Linked DNA regions of Homo sapiens: region 2 is linked to region 1. The links are contacts of gene promoters, found by promoter capture Hi-C in blood cells and fetal thymus (Javierre and others, 2016). All regions are on one chromosome and are shown on one strand. The core of a region is centred on a gene start or on the middle of the fragment in contact, and the rest is flanking DNA. Distances in the headings are between cores, read along the strand shown. Region 1 holds the start of MEFV (MEFV innate immunity regulator, pyrin). Region 2 overlaps CLUAP1 (clusterin associated protein 1).

What was found. The method cuts DNA at HindIII sites, captures the fragments that hold promoters and counts their contacts. A CHiCAGO score of 5 or more calls a contact.
Region 2: a fragment that was not itself captured here is called in contact with the fragment with the promoter of MEFV in region 1 in 1 of 17 cell types (megakaryocytes); the score reaches 6.1 in megakaryocytes.

The regions. Positions count from the first base shown.
Region 1 is chr16:3,254,848-3,259,714 of GRCh38, reverse strand. It overlaps MEFV (MEFV innate immunity regulator, pyrin), which reads left to right and starts at 3,082. Exons shown (of 10, transcript NM_000243.3): 1 at 3,082-3,404. The coding sequence starts at 3,128. The HindIII fragment of the contact is 7,994 bases long and covers 302-4,867 here.
Region 2 is chr16:3,516,705-3,521,888 of GRCh38, reverse strand. It overlaps CLUAP1 (clusterin associated protein 1), which reads right to left. Exons shown (of 12, transcript NM_015041.3): 7 at 1,853-1,986. Among named protein-coding and RNA genes, the nearest start is that of CLUAP1, 18 kb to the right of the region's middle. The HindIII fragment of the contact is 1,209 bases long and covers 1,311-2,519 here.

The DNA.
Region 1 (4,867 bases), core at 1,833-4,332:
AATGTGCAGAAGTAAATGCCATAGAAAGTGAAACCCCTGGTGACCAGGAGTGGAGTGAAGGTCGTGGTGTCTGAGCCGCACATTTCCCAGGAGTAATAGCCGAGAGTAGACCCTTTGCAGCAGCTTTGTTGGGTTTAGATTTGCCATGTCACCCCAAATAAGGTCACACATCCAATGGCAGGGGCACACAAGACAGCCCATGACCATTCCACTTTGATTATTAAACACTTAAATGACGTTAGAAGGGCAATAATTCTATTTTCACTGTGAGAAATTACTGGAACCCCTCCAAACAAAAGCTTTGTGAGCCTGCCTTGCCCTAGAAAGTCCAAAGTGGCATCAAAACACTGCCTTCCAGAAGTCCTGCCTCAGAGCAGCCTCTGTTGCAAAACGTGTCACCGCAATTGCAAAATATCCTGCTTTAGACCAGAAAGTATCATTCCCTGCCCAATTCTGTCATGGGGTTTTGGTATCAGCTCCGAGGAGTTTTCTGACCAGACGAGATGGGATCACACAGCACCCACAGCGTCACTGCACAGTCTCATCCTTTCTCCATCTGGTAGTGGGAGACTGCCTGGGAGGTGCTGGGTTGCCACCGTCCAGAGTCAGGGACGGGTGCTGGCCCCAGTGATACCCCATTCAACACCCTTCTTCTGGCCCAGCCTAAAAATTCCAAAAATCTGCTGTCTGCACCATCAATGTGCATTTCATCCACTTTTTTTTTTTTTTTTTTTTTTTTTTTTTGAGACAGGGTGTCTTGCTGTGTCACCCAGGCTGGAGAGCAGTGGTGCAATCACAGCTCATTGCAGCCTGAACCTAGGCTCAAGCAATCTTCCCACCTCAGCCTCCTGAGTAGCAGCAGGGACCACCAGTGTGTGCCACCACACCCAGCTAATATTTTTTCTATTTTTTGTAGAGGCAGGGTCTCCTTATGTTGCCCAGGCTAATCTCAAACTCTTGGGCTTAAGTAATCCTCCTGTCTCAGCCTCCCAAGGGCTGGGATTGCAGGTGTGAGCCACTACACCCAGCCCAATTCACCCTTTTTTTAGGGAAGATGTTGGGTTTGGGCTCAGAAAGATCTAGCAAACTGCATGTTTGTTGTCAGCTATGAAAACAATGCAAAAACACCAAATACTCTGTGAAATAGGAAACAGGTGGACCAGCTGGACAGTAAGTTAAATTCAACCAACCAGAACTCATCAAAGCCTTGAATCCCAGGCTGGGCACACACAGAGGAGCTCACACCCAGAGCTGGGTGTTCAGCTAGGCGTCGCAATGTTGTGACTGACCTGTGGAAGTGACCCATCCTGGACCTCAGTGGTCAGCTGGAAATGTGACATCCATGGGTAGTCATTAACAGTAAAATCACAAATTATTGTCATGCAGGAGACGATGTTGTGAAGTGGTTTGACGTTTGGATCTTGGCTCTAGGCAAGTCACTAAGCTACAGATTCTTGGCTGCACAGGGGGATGATAAACGCAGCCCTGCAGGGTGCTGCAGAGATTCTAGGAGGAAGTGTTTATAAAGCTAGTGGTGGCTGGTGCCGAGGAAGTGCTGGTGAAGGGTAAATTGCATTATTAACAAAACTTCTGGCCGGGCGCAGTGGCTCACACCTGTAATCCCAGCACTTTGGGAGGCCAAAGCGAGTGGATCGCTTGAGATCAGGAGTTCAAGACCAGCCTGCGCAACATAGTGAGACCCTGTCTCTATAAAAAATACAAAAATTGGCCAGATGTGGTGGAATGCACCTGTAGTCTCAGCTACTTGGGAGGCTGAGGTTGGAGGGTTGCTCAAGCCCAGGAGGCAGAAGTTGCAGTGAGCCAAGATCCCACTACTGCACTCCAGCCTGAGTGACTGAGCAAGACCCTATCTAAAAATAAAAAAATTAGGGTATGCAACGGTCAGAAGTAGGTAAGTGAGGAGTCAGTTCACCCTACATGTAATTTTTCATTTATTTATTTTTTTTGAGACAAAGTCCCGCTCTGTCGCCCAAGCTGGAGTACAATGGCGCAACCTCGGCTCACTGCAACATCTGCCTCCCATGTTCAAGTGATTCTCCTGCCTCAGCCTCCTGAGTAGCTGGGAGTACAGGTGCGTGCCACCATGCCTGGCTAATTTTTGTATTTTTAGTAGAGATGGGGTTTTACTGTGTTGGCCAGGCTGGTCTTGTACTCCCAACCTGAGGTGATCCACCCACCTCGGCCTCCCAAAGTGCTGGGATTACAGGCGTTAGCCACTGTGCCCTGCCCCCAACATGTAACTTCTGTTAGCTTCAAAGCCACCTCTGGGGCCCTGCACCACATATGAGCTGAAGGACACCCGTGCCTTTTCACCCGTGTAGCTCCAGCATCTTGGCACACTGTCTAGAATGTTCAATGAATGTGCACGGAAGAGCATTCTGGCTCCAGGGAGCGAGGACTGAGTCAGCTCTGGGAACAGATGAGTCAGGCTGGTGGTCCAGGCATTGCTTTTCAAGTCCTTCATGTGGCTGGAAGAACCAGTCAACTGGAACCGGATCAACAGGGGTGATGGCATGGCAAGAGTTATCTCCTGGCAGTGCCCTTCTGGCCTCACTTGCCTTCTTGGGCCAGGAAAGGCAAAGCTCACAGGACTGTATTCAGTGCCCACCCCTTCCCCCGTCCTGTGCCATTGGCTCTGGAAGGTCCCTGAAACCCCGAGTCTGGAGGAGAACAGTTGACCAGCAGGGCGGGCCCTCAGCATAGTCCTCTCTGTTCCCACTCACCCGCTCTGCCAGCCCCAGATCCTGGCAGGAAGGAAGATTGGAGGGGGTGTCTGGAATCCAATCCCAGACCTTCCCTTGCAGACTTGCCCATCTGTCTGTGGTCTAGTGTGGAGGCGAGGTCCAGGGTTTGGGAGGGGTGTGGGGGCACATGTCTGCCAAGGCATGGAGCCCTCCCAGCTGGAAAATCCTCTGAACCTGTAAGAAGAGAACACAGCCGGCATGGACACACCCTTACCCTTAGTCTCAGTTCCCACCAAGACACAGAGCATTTCCTGTGCCTTTTCCGCTATTTCACAACCTGCCTTTTCTTGCTCACCAAGGACAGAGGCTTCTTTTCCTACCAGAAGCCAGACAGCTGGCTCGAGCCTCTCCTGCTCAGCACCATGGCTAAGACCCCTAGTGACCATCTGCTGTCCACCCTGGAGGAGCTGGTGCCCTATGACTTCGAGAAGTTCAAGTTCAAGCTGCAGAACACCAGTGTGCAGAAGGAGCACTCCAGGATCCCCCGGAGCCAGATCCAGAGAGCCAGGCCGGTGAAGATGGCCACTCTGCTGGTCACCTACTATGGGGAAGAGTACGCCGTGCAGCTCACCCTGCAGGTCCTGCGGGCCATCAACCAGCGCCTGCTGGCCGAGGAGCTCCACAGGGCAGCCATTCAGGGTAAGCGGGCCCAGGCCTCCTCCTCATCCAGTGCTGAGTGCTGGCTGCTTTGTGGGAAAGGGGACCAGGAGCTCAGAGCAGCTCACTCTGACCTGGGGATTGGGAGTCTCAGGTCTACCAAAATCCAGATGACTTTAGTTCAGGAACGTCCCTTTCTTCACTCTGGCCTTTGGAACTGGGTTAGTAAACTTCCTTCAGGCTCCTAATGGGTTTTTTAAGAAGCAGGTCAGGGTCACGAAAGGCAGGAGCTGGAACACCTGTTCTTTGAGACTTCTTCACTACATTTATGATTAATACTCATGTCAGACAAACATCTCTAGGTTAGCAAAAAGGGATTGCTATGCAATCATATGAACGGGGTTGGTATAGAATCTTCTCAGTGCTGTTCACCATGTTGGCCAGGCTGGTCTCGAACTCCTGACCTCAAGTGATCCTCCCGCCTCAGCCTCCCAAAGTGCTGGGATTTCAGACATAGGCCACCGTGCCCGGCTTATTTTTATTTTTAAAGCGTATAATCTGGGTTTTGCTGACCTGTGTAAGATCTTATTTGAAACAGTTGTCCTGCTTAAAACGTTTGAAAAGTACTATTTGAGAAATATAGGCTAGGCATGGTGGCTCACACTTATAAATAATCTCAGCACTTTGGGAGGCTAAGGTGGGTGGATTGCTAGAGCTCAGGAGTTTGAGACCAGCTTGGGCAACATGGTGAAACCCTGTCTCTACCAAAAATACAAAAAAATGAGCCAGGCGTGGTAGCACACACCTGTATTTTCAGCTATTGAAAAAACAGAAAACAGGCTGAGGTGAGAGGATTGCTTGAGCCTGGGAGGCAGAGGTTGCAGTGAGCTGAGATCACATCAGGGCAACAGAGCAAGATCCTGTCTCAAAAAATAAAATAAGAGAGAGAGAAATACATAGCAACATCAAGCATGTTCTTACTGAATGGTAATTGACTGCCATTGTCTAGTCTAGGAAGTCCTGAACTTTTGTTTTTGAGATGGAGTCTTGCTCTGTCACTCAGGCTGGAGTGCAGTGGCCCGATCTCAGCTCACTGCAACCTCCACATCCCGGGCTCAAGCGATTCTCATGCCTCAGCCTCCCGAGTAGCTGGGACTACAGGTGCGCACCACCGCGTCTGGCTGAGTTTCTTATTTTTAGTAGGAACGGGGTTTTGCCATGTTGGCCAGGCTGGTCTCGAACTCCTGACCTCAAATGATCCTCCCACCTTGGCCTCTGGAGAAGCTGGGATTACAGGCATGCGCCACCACGCTCAGCTTATTTTTGTATTTTTAGTAGAGACGGGGTTTCACCCTGTTGGTCTTGAACTCCTGATCTCAGGTGATCCTCCCGCCTCGGCCTCCCAGAGTGCCGGGAATACAGGCATGAGCCACCGCGCCCGGCCCGTTGTTTTCCTCAATTTCTAAACTTTAATATCCAAGGGGATTCTCTCTCCTCTGCCCTGA
Region 2 (5,184 bases), core at 666-3,165, 260 kb before region 1:
GAGATGGGGTTTCGCCATATTGCCCAGGCTGGTCTTGAACCCCTGAGTTCAAGCGATCTGCCCGCCTTGGCCTCTCAAAGTGCTGGGATTATAGACGTGAATCACTGTGCCCAGTCTAAAGAGGTTTTTAAACGATAAAAAATTTTTTAAAAAGGCCAGGCGTGATGATGACTCATGCCTGTAATCCCAGCACTTTGGGAGGCCAAGGCAGGTGGATCACAAGGTCAGGAGTTCAAGACCAGCCTGGCCAACATGGTGAAACTCCGTCTCTACTAAAAATACAAAAATTAGCTGGGCGTGGTGGCGGCCGCCTGTAATCCCAGCTACTTGAGAGGCTGAGGCAGGAGAATCGCTTGAATCCGGGAGGCAGAGTTTGCAGTGAGCCGGGATCGCGCCATTGCACTCCAGCCTCGGCAACAAGAGCGAAACTCCAACTCAAAAAAAAAAAACAAAAACAAAAAAAACCATAAAAATCTATACTGGTTTGCTGAACTTTTTCTTTTTTCTTATTATTGACCTTAAAGGGAAAATTCTACTCTTTTAAAAATATAAGCAGATAAACTCAGAAATAATTATAATCTTTTGAACTAGAGCAAAACAAAGAGACTTTTCTGTTAAAATGATTTGGAGCTTAACAAAAATGAATTGATGCTTTAAAAGTGGAATGTGTCAAGGAGATCAATCTATATGGCGGCAATGACTTCTGTTTTTTTTTTTTTCCCTCTCTGAGGCTCCAGAGGTAAAGAGCCAGTTTCAGGAGGGGAAGGGCCTTGGCCTTGCGCTGGGCAGGGAGGAGCCAGGGCGCTCCCTGTGGTTGCTGTCGCTGCCTCCAGGTGCTGCCTCCCCACAGACCTCGGGACAGTGGGCAGGGTGTAGCCAGCCACCAACATCCAAAAAGGCAAAACATCCGAGCAGAGTAGGCAGCTGGGAAGAGGAGGGAGCCAAGAAGAAAGAAAAATAAAGGGTGAATGAAAAGGGAGAAAGAGCAGAAGCATGGGGGAGGGAAAGAGGCACAGAACGAGGAAGAGAAGAGAGAGAGAGCCGGCACCACTATTCTCCATCGGTATTCCTGGGAAATATATTTCCAATGAGGTAACGTAGGAAGAAAGATGAATTACTGACTGGTGAGGAATGATCAAGGTTTAAATAAAGTCTAAAATCTATGCCAACAAACAGGCAGGAGTATGTTTCTGTTTCTACCTAATTTATGGCAAGATCTTAGGAGACCACGTCTGGATTTCCCCGTCTGGATTCACTTACTCTGCCTTGAGTTCCAAGAAGCTATAAAAGCTTAAAGGGCAGTTCAAGCTTTAAGCAGTTTTCCAGACATACCGCAAGCAGTAAAGAGAATGAGTTTAGCCATCTGCTTGTTATGACAGGCAACACATGTACATTTGAGGTGAAGATACCCTTATGTAAGGCTTTTTTTCATTGCTTGAGAAGAGTTAAGATCACATTCTATTCTCTTAAGTCTTTGTTCTAACTTTTTTTTTCTTTTAGAGTCAGGGCCTTGTTCTGTTACTCGGCCTTGTTCTGTGGCTCAGGCTGGAGTGCAGTGATGCAACCATAGCTCACTGCAGCCTCAACCTCCTGGGCTCAAGCAATCCTCCCGCCTCAGCCTCCCAAGTAGCTGGGACTACAGGTGTGTATCACCATACTGAGGTAATTTTTAAAAATTTTTAGAGATGGGGTTTCATTATGCTGCCCAGGCTGGTCTCAAACTCCTGGGCTCAAGAGAACCCCCCGCCCCAGCTTCATGAGTAGCTGAGATTTCAGACATGAGCCACCACGCCCAGTTTGTTTGAACTTTCCAGGACATCTTTCTACTCATTCTCCAAGTGTTCATATCTACCTGACACTCTGCAGAGTCTCTAGTCGCTTCCGATTTCTTTCCAGTTCTAATTTTCTCTTTTCGATTTTGGCTTCTAAATTAGCTTCATCAGAGGCCACATTATTGAGCAGGTCTTTAGTCTTCTGAACCTGTGTCTATATTTAATGGGAAATAATGAGACAAGGTGGCAATAAAAACAGCCATCCTAATTCTTAGAAGAATTTTGCAACTCTTCAGGCATAGCAACATTATGCTCAACAAACACAAAAGCAAACAAATAGACACTTCCCCAAGCAATGACTCACTTAACCCACTAGTTCCAGGGAGAATGTCACACAGGTCCAGAAAAAGGTATCTCTTTTTTTTTCCCCATGAAAAGCAGGCATTTCTACCCAGGGAAAGAAGTGAAGATGCAAAGAAGAGTGTCCTGGTCAAGGTGGAGAGGCCTGCAGTCTTTTCTCTGGCTCACTCGGTTAGAACAAGGTGCACATCACTCTGGACGGTCAGTCTGCCTTTTTATCATTCGGGCCATGCCCCTAGTTACAAACACCCGACTTACAGAATACCCACACACACCAAGTACTGCTCTACTAGGAGGGGAGAGAAAGAAACAGCTGGTCCCAGCCCTAACCCACTGCCTGCTGGGATTGAGAGAAGGTCCTCTTCCCTCTCCCTGGCAACAGAAGCTTGACTACAGACTAAAAACGAGGAGAAACCACTCTGAAGACAGTACGAAAGCAGTTCCCACAGTGGCAATGGCCACACTGGTGTGCACCAGCTCTGGAAGGGGTCCAGGGCAACAGTTGGACAGAGGCCCTTGGGCAACAGAGGCTGAGTAAAGAAGGGAAGGGGGACACGGGCCCACTGACGGTGACACAAGTCTCCCTATCCTAAGAGAAGGTTCATTTGAAGCAGGTAGAGTCACTGGTAGTGCGCCGTCTTCACATGCGTCTTGTCCGGTGGCTGGCTGGATCACATGCCTGGGGTTCAGGCTCCAATCTCTTTATGAGGAATCTGGACTGCCACCCAGCTGAGCGTGGAACTGCCCCCCAGGGTTCTGGCTTTCCAGCCCTGCATTAAGTTCCTGGTGGCCAAGGTGGGGCTTCCCCTCCAGCTCTTTGCCTATGTGTAGCATCCCACGAAGGGGTTACTCTGTTTTCCTGCAAGTCTCTGAAAAGCTATGGGCTCCACAGAGAAATGGCCTACGAAGCCCAGACACTCTCCACAACTCTCAGGCATGGTGTGTTTTGGAACCAGCCACTGTTACTGACAATGCGTTTATGGTCTAATTTTTTTGGTCTAAGTACACTAGCCACTTCTAAGATACTTTCATGAAAATAATCAGACCCTTATCATCGATTTGCTGCAAGTGCCTTAGAGCCCCCAGGAGAAATGCGAGTTCACCCTCACAGGAAGAAAGGTGGGTCTCCTTTCTAAACAACTTCAGTTAATGGCAACTGTTTCCTCGAACCAAAGTCAGATTAAAACCTAGTAAATTTATCCCACCTTAAACATATCTGTTCCTCAAACAAGAAAGATCCACAATGCAAAACAGCTGTGTAAACACAAGCAATTTTCCCTGGTTTCTGAAATAAATGGCCTGTACTCCCCAAACCCTTTTAAGTACCCATGTTGTTTTGGTTGTTTTTAGAATGATCAAACATCACAGATATTTTCTAACAATGAAAGGAGTCTTAAGAGATGTCTACCAAGAAATGAACCCTGTCCTCTCTTGGGTGTTCTACTTTTAACATATTAGTGCTAAGGGCACATTCATGCCGTGTTCACCTGATTCAGTTAGAACACTGGCAAGGATAAGAGGTATAATAATTTTTTTTTAATTTTTAAATTTAGAAACAATCAAAAATTTACGGAAAACCTGTTGTACAACACAAAGCGTTTTTCCCAACCTAGGTGACAGTAAGTTGCTGACCAGACGTTCCAATACCCTGAATACTTTAGCGTGTATTTCCTACAAATAAGGACTTTCTCCTACATCCCCACAATACAATCATCAAAACAGGAAGCCAGCACTAACACACTACCACCGTCTAACTCCAGCCCCACTCCACTGTCCCCACTTGTCCCAGTGAAGTCCCCAACAGCAGATAGGAGCTGCCTATGTGTCCAGTTATCACATCTCCACAGCCTCCCTCAGTCTGAAATGCCCCCTCAGCTTTCCTTGACTTTCAGAACCTTTTCACTCTGGGAGCATACAGGCTGGTTAATCTGTAGAATGCCCCTCAATCCGGCTTTGTCTCATTAGAGTCAGATATGCATCGTTGGCAGGAATACTCAGAAGTGACTGCATCCTACCAGGCGTGCATGATTTTGATTTGTTCTGTAACGATGATGTTCACTTTGATCTCTTGATTAAGGGGGTGACTGGCAGGCTTCTCCCTGAGAAGTGACTCTTTTCCCCTCTGTAATTAATAAGTACTCTGCGGGCCAGGCACAATGCCTCATGCCTGTAATCCCAGCACTTTGAGAGGTCAAGGCGGGCGGATCACCTGAAGTCAGGAGTTTGAGACAAGCCTGGCCAAACATGGCAAAACTCCATCTCTACTAAAAAAAAAAACAAAAATTAGCTGGGCGTGGTGGCGCATGCCTGTACTTCCAGCTATTTGGGAGGTTGAGGCACGAGAATTGCTCGAACCCAGGAGGCAGAGATTGCAGTGAGCTGAGATGGCGCTACTGCACTTCAGCCTGGGTGACATAGCAAGACTTCGTCTAAAAAAATAAACAAATAAATAAATAAAATAAAACAAAAATACAATAATTAGCTGGGTGTAGTGGTGTGCGCCAGTAATCCCAGCTACTCAGGAGAATCACTTGAACCTGGGAGGCAGAGGTTGCAATGAGCCGAGGTTGTGCCACTGTACTCCAGCCTGGGCAACAGAGCAAGACTCCGTCTCAAAAAAAAAAAAAAGAAAAAAAAAGTACTTTGTGGAAAGTTACTTCGAATCTGTGTGAATGACCTGCTCCTCCTCAGCCTCCAATATTCATTTATTTTTTTATGCCAGTGAAAACTCATGGTTTCCTATTTCATTCTATTATACCATAAAATTAATTATTCTAACTTATTTATTTTGATGCTTAAGTTGTCCTTACTTTGGCCAGGAGAAGCCCACTTAAGTTGGCTTCTGCATGCTTCCAATAGTTCCCTTTCCTCCTTTGAACTCTTCCTTACTTTCTCGTACTTCTCCTGCCCAACTCTGGAATTAGCCATTTTCCCCTAAGAGTCCTGGTTCCTTTTAGTGGAGAATGGCATTAAGCCAGGTGCTACGTGTGCTCAGAGCTAAGAAATGTATGAGTGTGGGTGTCTCTACGTGTATGTATATAAATAAAACATT